2 separate regions of the Homo sapiens genome follow, and region 2 is linked to region 1. The links are contacts of gene promoters, found by promoter capture Hi-C in human tissues and cell types (Jung and others, 2019). All regions are on one chromosome and are shown on one strand. Each heading gives the region's core, a stretch centred on a gene start or on the middle of the fragment in contact. The rest is flanking DNA. Distances are from core to core; before and after follow the strand shown.

Region 1 (4,324 bases), core at 1,313-3,812:
TGGCACAAACTCAGCTCACTGCAACCTCCGCCTCCCCAGTTCAAGCAATTCTCCTGCCTCAGCCTCCCCAGTAGCTGGGACTATAGGCGCCCACCATTATACCTGGCGAATTTTTGTATTTTAGTAGAGACAGGGTTTCGCTAATGTTGGCCAGCCTGCTCTCAAACTCCTGACCTCAAGTGATCTGCCCGCCTCAGCCTCCAAAAGTGCTGGGATTACAGACGTGAGCCACCACACCTGGCCAAAATTTGTATTAAGTCACCTAGTCTGTGGTACTTTGTTATGGCAGTCCAAGCAAACAAATGTATCGTCTTTCATGTTAGTGCAAATATCAGTAGTTGATTACTTTTTATTGCTGAGTAGTATTTTATTGTATGAGTGTACCATATTTTATTCATTTACTGACCAGATGATGGGTGTTGGATAAGTTCCAGTTTTGGTACTAAAAAATTTGCATACGAGTCTTGGTCTGAATGTGTTTTTATTACCTAGTGGTGCATCTCAGTGCTTTATTTTATTTCATTTTATTGTTTGAGATGGAGTCTCACTCTGTCGCTTGGGCTGGAGTCAGTGGAGCAATCTCGGCTCACTGCAACCTCTGCCTCCCAGGTTCAAGCGATTCTCCTGACTCAGCCTCCCGAGTAGCTGGGACTACAGGTGTGCACCACTACACCCAGCTAATTTTTGTATTTTTAGTAGAGATGGGGTTTCACCATGTTGTTTGGCCAGGATGGTCTCAATCTCTTGACCTCGTGATCCACCTGCCTCGGCCTCCCAAAGTGCTGGGATTACAGGCGTGAGCCACAGTGCCCGGCCTTTTTTTTGTTTGTTTGTTTGTTTGTTTTGAGACGGAGTCTCACTCTGTCACTCAGGCTGGAGTGGAGTGGTGCAATCTCGGCTCATTCAACCTCTGCTTCCTGGGTTCAAGCGATTCTTCTACCTCAGCCACCTGGGTAGCTGGGACTACAGGTGCCCGCCACCACCCCTGGCTAATTTTTTTTTTGTATGTTTTTATTAGAGACCGGTTTTCACCATATTGGCCAGGCTGGTCTCAAACTCCTGATCTTGTGATCCTCCCGCCTCAGCCTCCCAAAGTGTTGGAATTACAGGCGTGAGCCACCGCGCCTGACCCTCTCAGTGCTTTTAAGATCAAGTTTGAGGCCGGGTGCTGTGGCTAATACCTGTAATACCAACACTTTGAGAGACTGAAGTGGCAGGATCACTTGAGCCCAGGAATTTTAGACCAGCCTGGGCAACATAGTCATACCCCATCTCTACAAAAAATAAAGAAATGAGTCAGGCATAGTAGCGTGTGCCTGTGGTCCCAGCTACAGGGGAGGCTGAGGTGGGAGGTTCACTTAAACCCAGGAATTTGAGGCTTCAGTAAGCTGTGACCACGCCACTGTACTCCAGCCTAGGTGACAGAGCAAGACCCTGTCCCAAAAAAAGAGATCAAGTTTGAGCTTCTTACCACCTCAACTTCACCTCTCACCCCTAGCTGCTTCTTACCTATGCTCCAGCAACACAGACTGCTGATAAGTCCAGGTACATACCGTGTTATTTCCCACAAGTCTTTGCATCTGCTGTGCTCTCTTCAGAAGTATCCTCCTCAGTGTCCTCAGCCATAAAGAAGGCAGGTATCTTCTCTGCCAGGCTAGTTTAGGGCTCCTTTCCTTTGCTGTCATAACCCTTTGAGGTTCTATCATGCTAGATTACAGTGTCAGGTTGAATTTTTTTTTTTTAACTAGGCGAGTTTCTTAAGAAAAGGAATATTGTGTTATTTATTTCTGTATTCTCAGTGTCCAGGACCTATGTAATAATTGGTGTTCAATAAATGTTTGCTTAAAAAGGGAATAAATAAATGAATGAGTGATTCAGTCATTTGAAAAGTCTTTAGTGAGTGCCTACCATGTGTTTAGTATAATGCTAGCCACCACCGTGGCCACAAAAGAAATAAAAGACCTATAATACGTCCTTAAGGGCCGGGTGCAGTGGCTCACACCTGTAATCCCAGCACTTTGGGAGGCCAAGGCAGGCGGATCATGAGGTCAGGAGTTTAAGACTAGCCTGGCCAATATGGCAAAACCCTGTCTCTACTAAAAACACAAAAATTAGCCAGGCGTTGGTGGCACGTGCCTATAGTCCCAGCTACTCGGGCGGCTGAGGTAGAAAAATTGCTTGAACCCGGGAGATGGAGGTTGCAGTGAGCCAAGATCGCGCCACTGCACTCCAGCCTAGGCAACAGAGTGAGAGTCCATCTCAAAAAAAAAAAAAAAAAAAAGTCCTTAAGGAATTTTAGTTGGGAAAACAAGACCTGCTCAGGAAAACGGATTATAGAACAATGCAATAAAGAATCAAGTTGCTGAAGAGCACTGCACACACAGATCTCTGTTCAGATTCTGGCTGTATGATCATGTGCAAGCCCCCTAAGCTCTCTAGGCTTCAGTTTCCTCATCTGGAAAATGGAGATAATTACCAGATGTGTTGAGTTCGAGGTACTATTGGCATACAGTACTAATCATTAAACAATGCCACTCCTCTGGACAATATTTTATAGAAGTTCACAAAGCTGATTCACGTCAAAGCTGATTCACATTCTTTATCTCATGTGATCAACCCTGTGAAACAGGGATTATAGCATAGCATTTATGGCAGATTGTAAAAATGACCACAGATTATCCCCTTCCCTCTACCCACACCTTTTGAAAGTGCTTTTGCACTCTGAGTCTGGTTTGGCTTTGCGATGACTTGAAACATGCTTGAGCACGGAGGCTTGTCTGCTCTCTCTTTTTTTTTTTTGAGATGGAGTCTCGCTTTGTCACCTAGGCTGGAGTGCAGTGGCGTGATCTCAGCTCACTGCAACCTCTGCCTCCCGGGTTCATGCGATTCTTCTGTCTCAGTCTCCTGAGTAGCTGGGATTACAGGCATGCACCACCACACCCAGCTAATTTTTGTATTTTTAGTAGAGACGGGGTTTCATCATATTGGCCAGGCTGGTCTTGAACTCCTGATCTCATGATCCTCCCACCTCAGCCTCCCAAAGTGCTGGGATTACAGGTGTGAGCCACTGCATCTGGCCTGTCTTCTCTTGTTAAACTTGGAATCTTTAGCCCGCCAAGTCAATGAGCCTAAGCTAGCCTGCTGGAAGATGAGAGGCTATATGGAGGAGCATCAGGGTGCTCCAGCCAACTGCCAGTCACCAAATATGTGATTGAGCCAACTTACCAGCTATCCACAGACCCATGCATGTGGGAATCCAGCATAGATCAGCTAAATTGGCCAAGATCAAAACTGTGACCTGTATAAATATACTGTACCTTAGAACTGTGAACTAAACAAAATGATTGTTGTTTTAAGCCACTGTGTTTCAGGGTGGGTCATTTTATAGCAAAAGCTCACTGAGACAGAGATCCAGAGCAGTAAAGCTTTGGAGCTAAGCAGTCTGAGTTGGAAAGACAGCTTCTCCCACTTTCTAGCTATATGGCCTTGGGCAAGCCACTCAATTTCTCAGAGCTTCAGTGTCCTCATTTGAATAATGGGGGTAATGGTAGTGCCCATTTCCTGGGGTTGCAAGAATTCAATAAGATGATAGATGTCTGACATTAGCTTGTATGAAGCTTGGCTCAGCCTAAAGGGAGCTGTTGTTGCCATTGCTCCATTGTTCAGATGAGTAAACTGAAGATGAGAAAACTAAACTCCCAGGTGTTTGGTCACTTTCCCCAAGGTCAGTCAGCCAGAAAATGACTGAACTTGGGACTCACAGTCAAGACTTCTTAATTCCTACCAAGTGTAGGATTCCTAATAAGACTAGTGGGGTGACTGGCAGGGGGTGGGGAGGGACATTTATTGTCTACCTGGTGACAAATTTCCTTGTGTCCTGATTTCAGTAGGAAGCCAAAATAGGCTGGAGGTAATGAATAATCAAACTGAAGTTCTACGAAGATTAGTTGGTAGCACAAAGTACAACTCACTGGCAGGCACTGGCAGTTCCAGCCCTTCATTCTCTGAATCCAATGTCTTATCAAGTCGGATTTTCTTGTACTGTTTCTCAAATCCACTCATTTCTCTCTCTTTTTTTTTTTTTTTTACCTCAGCCCTTGCCCCTGTTCCTGGAGCTGTGCAATGGCTTCCAGCTTTCTTGGCGACTCCCACCGCAATCCTCTTTCCTCTCCTCTCGTCCTTCTCCAGCCACACTTTTAGCTCTGTGGCAACACATGCCTGATGCCTACCAGAGGTCAGATTCAGCTTGTGGGCTTTACCTTGGAGCCGGCTTCATGGTTTCCAGGTATTGGGATATAAGGCCTCCATGTGCCTGACACCCCAA
Region 2 (4,324 bases), core at 874-3,373, 160 kb before region 1:
AGGGGGAGGAGACCTGGTAAGAGGCTGTTGGGAAAGTTCAAGTAAGGAATGAAGATGGCCGGGTGCGGTGGCTCATGCTTGTAATCCCAGCACTTTGGGAGGCTGAGGTGAGTGGATCAGCTGAGGTCAGGAGTTCAAGACCAGCTTGGCCAACATGGCGAAACCCCATCTCTACTAAAAATACAAAAATTATAGGTGGTGCATGCCTGTAATCCCAGCTACTCGGGAGGCTGAGGCAGAAGAATCGCTTGAACCCAGAGGCAGAGGTTGCAGTGAGCCCAGATCACGCCACTGCACTCCAGCCTGGGCGACAAGCGCAAAACTCCATCTCAAAAAAAAAAAAAAAAGGAATGAAGTTGGCCTCAACTCTGGGGATAATAGGGATGGACAGGAGGGCTGAGATGGTGGAGGCCTTTTTTGAAGTATGATGGGCAGGATGTAGGGGAACCCATCTTAATCCACTTCTTACATCTAAGACATGAATATATGTGCACAGCACATTTTAAACAAAGAGAAAGGAAAAGATCACTGTCCCAAACCCTTGGGATGAGATTGTTTATGCAATTAAGCAGCACAGGATTTAACTCTGAGATCCCTGGAAGCAAAGGCAAAAAGGGAAGCATGGTGACATGCATAAGCTTGCACTATCTGTTAAAATAAAGAATACTCAGGGGAAAGGAAGAGACTGGCCAGATTAGAGTAGAAATTAAGCCTGAAGGGCACTGGACAGATCATGTTTGTCCCTGATCCTGAGAGCCCTAGGAAGGGCCAGTTTGGGGATCACTGGTTCCTCCTACTGCTCTCTTTTGGAGGGTGGAGATCTTGGGGGTAATACCCTGAAAGCACAGTGCAATGGGGAGCCCAGCCTTGGCCCAGAAAGATACCTTTACAGCCAGCCAGCCAAGTGTTTAAACCCGGAAATATGATTCCCTACCAGAGTGGGATATGGCTCAACATCCCTTCCCACCTCATACTCCTCTGGCACTCTTTGGAGTCTCCATTAGCTCTTCAAGAGAAGCTGGGCAGAAAGTTGAGGTCCAAAGCAAGGATAGATGTATTTACTCAAAGTGGCCCAACAAGTTACGGATGGAGCCAGGACAGTGACTCTGCCCTTTTGATTTCAGAGCTTGTGTGTTTCTGGTCTGGCCAGAGCTGGCTATTCTCTTCTTAGTGTCCTATTAGTGCATGTGTTCATTCAACACAAGAGATGGAGCACCATTTGAGGGCTGGAGGGTGTCAGGGCCCTGTCCTCAGGGAGCTCCCCTTCTGGTGGGAAAGAAAACTCTTTGACAATCAGCTCTCCCTAAAGATGACTGAAGGTGACCATCACTCCCAGAGAAGTGCAGGCCTCACCTGCAAAGGCAAAGGAGAGATCTTGCCTTGATTCGGGAGTGGGAGCGGGGAGCAGAGGAAGACCTCCAGGGGAAGGCACAGGATCCCTATGGGCTGACTTTCCTGAGAATGGCGCATGGGCAGACGGAGTGGGGACAGGGGCCACTGGTATTGTAGGCACCTGGAATTAGGACCCCTTCTCTTTGTGGGGTGAGTGTTTCGACGTTCATTACCTTATTTCATCTTAGCAACACTCGTGGGAAGATAGTAGAGATATTTTAAGATCTTAAAATGCCCATTTTAAAGCTGGGAAAACAGACTCTCCGGTGGCGTGCTGTAGACCACAAACTGAATTAAGAACGCCAGTGTTCTGATTCCATCCATCTGCGGAGTTCCGGGCACGCACCGCCGAGCGCCTTACCCTGAGCCTTCCCGGTACCCGCAGCCCCGACAGCTCAGCCTTCCCCACCTGAAAGTTCCACCTGAGGTCTCCCTCAACTCTGCCCTCCTGCATTCTTGGCGTCGCGGGGAGTCAGGGGTTAAACCCCGTGGCCCGCGTGGCCCCTTCCCCCTCCGCAGCCCCCTCGCCTCCACTCGGCGCCGCGCCTGGAGCGTCCGTCCCGGAGACCCGCACAAGAGAGGAGGGGAAAAAGTGGGCCTGTTTCTCGGGTGGCCAATCCACCGAGCCCGCGGTGCCCCAGAGGAGGCGCCAGCGCTAGGCCAGCGCCAGGCCGGGCTGCCTGCTTCCCGCGGCAAAGTACAAATGCGCCCGAGCGCGGCGCCTGAAGCCCTTGGCGAGCACAGCCGGCCCGCGCTCAGCCTCCCTCCGCGGCCGCCGCGCCGCCGCCGCTGCTGGGACCGCCGCCCCGCCGGGCCCCAGGCCCCCGCGGCCCGACCCCGAGCCCACCGAGCAGGGGGCGCCGGCCGCCTCTAGCCCGCGCGCCCGCAACACCCGCTGGTCCCGCGCGCCTCGCCCGGCGCTGCGCGCTCGGCAGACGCCGGTCCTCTCCCTGCTTTCTCCTCCTCTCCCTCTCACCTTCCCCCTTTCTTTGATCGCCTCTCCCTTCTGCTGGACCTTCCTTCGTCTCTCCATCTCTCCCTCCTTTCCCCGCGTTCTCTTTCCACCTTTCTCTTCTTCCCACCTTAGACCTCCCTTCCTGCCCTCCTTTCCTGCCCACCGCTGCTTCCTGGCCCTTCTCCGACCCCGCTCTAGCAGCAGACCTCCTGGGGTCTGTGGGTTGATCTGTGGCCCCTGTGCCTCCGTGTCCTTTTCGTCTCCCTTCCTCCCGACTCCGCTCCCGGACCAGCGGCCTGACCCTGGGGAAAGGATGGTTCCCGAGGTGAGGGTCCTCTCCTCCTTGCTGGGACTCGCGCTGCTCTGGTTCCCCCTGGACTCCCACGCTCGAGCCCGTAAGTAGACCGGGAGGCTGGGTGGGCAGAGGAGGGATGCGGCCCCTGGAATGTGAGGGACAGCGCCAGGACCTGGACCCCAAGCTCTTCTGACAGCCGTCCAGGCAGCACCTGTGCCGGAGGGGTGGAGACTCCGTGAGGACCAGTATGGGCCGGGGGACCGGAGGAACTCGGCACAACTCAGAACTGAGAGAGGGCTGCTGCCAGGGACCTGAGGAGGGGCACCAAGGGCAGCGGGGGGAGAGGGCAGGGCACTGTGTTTTGGGTTGGGGGAGGACTTACTGTTCCTAGGAGGGAGTCGGGTATGTCTGGCTACAGGTAAGGAGTGTGATGGAGAAGAAAAGGCTTTTTGCCTTTGGAAAGAGCCATTGGACAGAAATGAGAGGTAATTAGGATAACCTTCCCATTCTTTTCTCTCTTTTGATCCTCGCAACTCTCCAGTGAGGTGGGTATTATCATTCGCACTTTACAGATGAGAAAACTTAGGCTGAGCAAGGAGGAACTTGCTAAAACTTACAGAGCGGGTAAGCCATCCAAAGCCAGAACTCTAGTTCCAGATCCCATGCTTTATTCCCTGCCTCACATTGTCTAGAAGGAACCCTGAATTTGCAGTGTGAGACTCTGGGAGGCGGCAGGGCACAGTGAGATAGACCAGCGTCTTCACCATCCCAGCCCCGCTGAATGCCAGCTGCTGGGAGGCCGTCACAGAGTGCACCTCTCTGACCCTGGGTTTCCTAATCTATAAAGCGGAAGTAAAAATCCTAGGAGAGTTGATAGGATTAAATTAGAGAAAAGAGGTAAAGCAGCTAGCACAAGACTGGTGCTTGATAGCTTCCAAAAAAAATCAGTTCCCAATTATGCTTTTCCACATAGATACAGTGTAACATCAAACAGGTTACATCATCAATCTGAGCCTCAGTTTCCTCACTGCGCCCACAATAGGCTGGTGGTCCCCCCTCCCCATGCCCAGCCAATCTCTTAGAATGCTGTGAGGATGGAAAACCAAACCACATTCTCTTAATCAGAAGAAAGGAGCTTCATTCAAGCAGTGGGTTTCTCCAGGACATACATGGCACAGCCTGGGATTAAGACCCTGCGTTCCCAACTCCTAGTCTGGTGCTCTTTCCTCTCCCCAGCTCAGCTCCTCCATCTATGCCTTTCTTTTGCACGTGACATTCTGGAGCTGGTAGTGCTGGACTTTGTTACGGTCTTGTTTCTGCTCATGAGAGCAGGCTGAGTGTCTCTGGCCTGCCAGCAGCATGAGACTCACATAAGTCTTTCCATTACATAGAACAAGTAATGGAATTAGCTCAGTGTTGTATTCAAATCCTGGCCGTGCCCCTTAGAGCTGTGTGACTTTTTGTAAGTCATAACTTCTCTGAGCCTCAATTTCCTAATCTGTCTAAGAGAGATACTAATCCAGAACTTGCAGGGTTCTTGGGAGGATTAAAGGAGGTAACGGATTAAAGTGCCCAGCACAATGCTGTGTACTTAATAAATGTCTCTTCCGCTTTCTTGAACCCTGAGGGTTTCCTCCTAACACCTGCCTCCTATTTCTTAAAAGAGACTTTGCACAGGATGC

The links. Contacts are between HindIII fragments. The study calls those that stand out against the background at their distance.
Region 2: a contact is called between the fragment with the promoter of CHRDL2 here and a fragment that was not itself captured in region 1, in 2 of the 25 tissues and cell types used here (IMR-90 fibroblasts and heart right ventricle).

What each region holds. Positions count from the first base shown.
Region 1 is chr11:74,570,824-74,575,147 of GRCh38, reverse strand. No RefSeq gene overlaps it. Among named protein-coding and RNA genes, the nearest start is that of POLD3, 20 kb to the left of the region's middle. The HindIII fragment of the contact is 4,780 bases long and covers 173-4,324 here.
Region 2 is chr11:74,729,225-74,733,548 of GRCh38, reverse strand. CHRDL2 (chordin like 2) reads left to right here and starts at 2,123. Exons shown (of 11, transcript NM_001278473.3): 1 at 2,123-2,742. The coding sequence starts at 2,661. The HindIII fragment of the contact is 7,141 bases long and covers 1-4,324 here.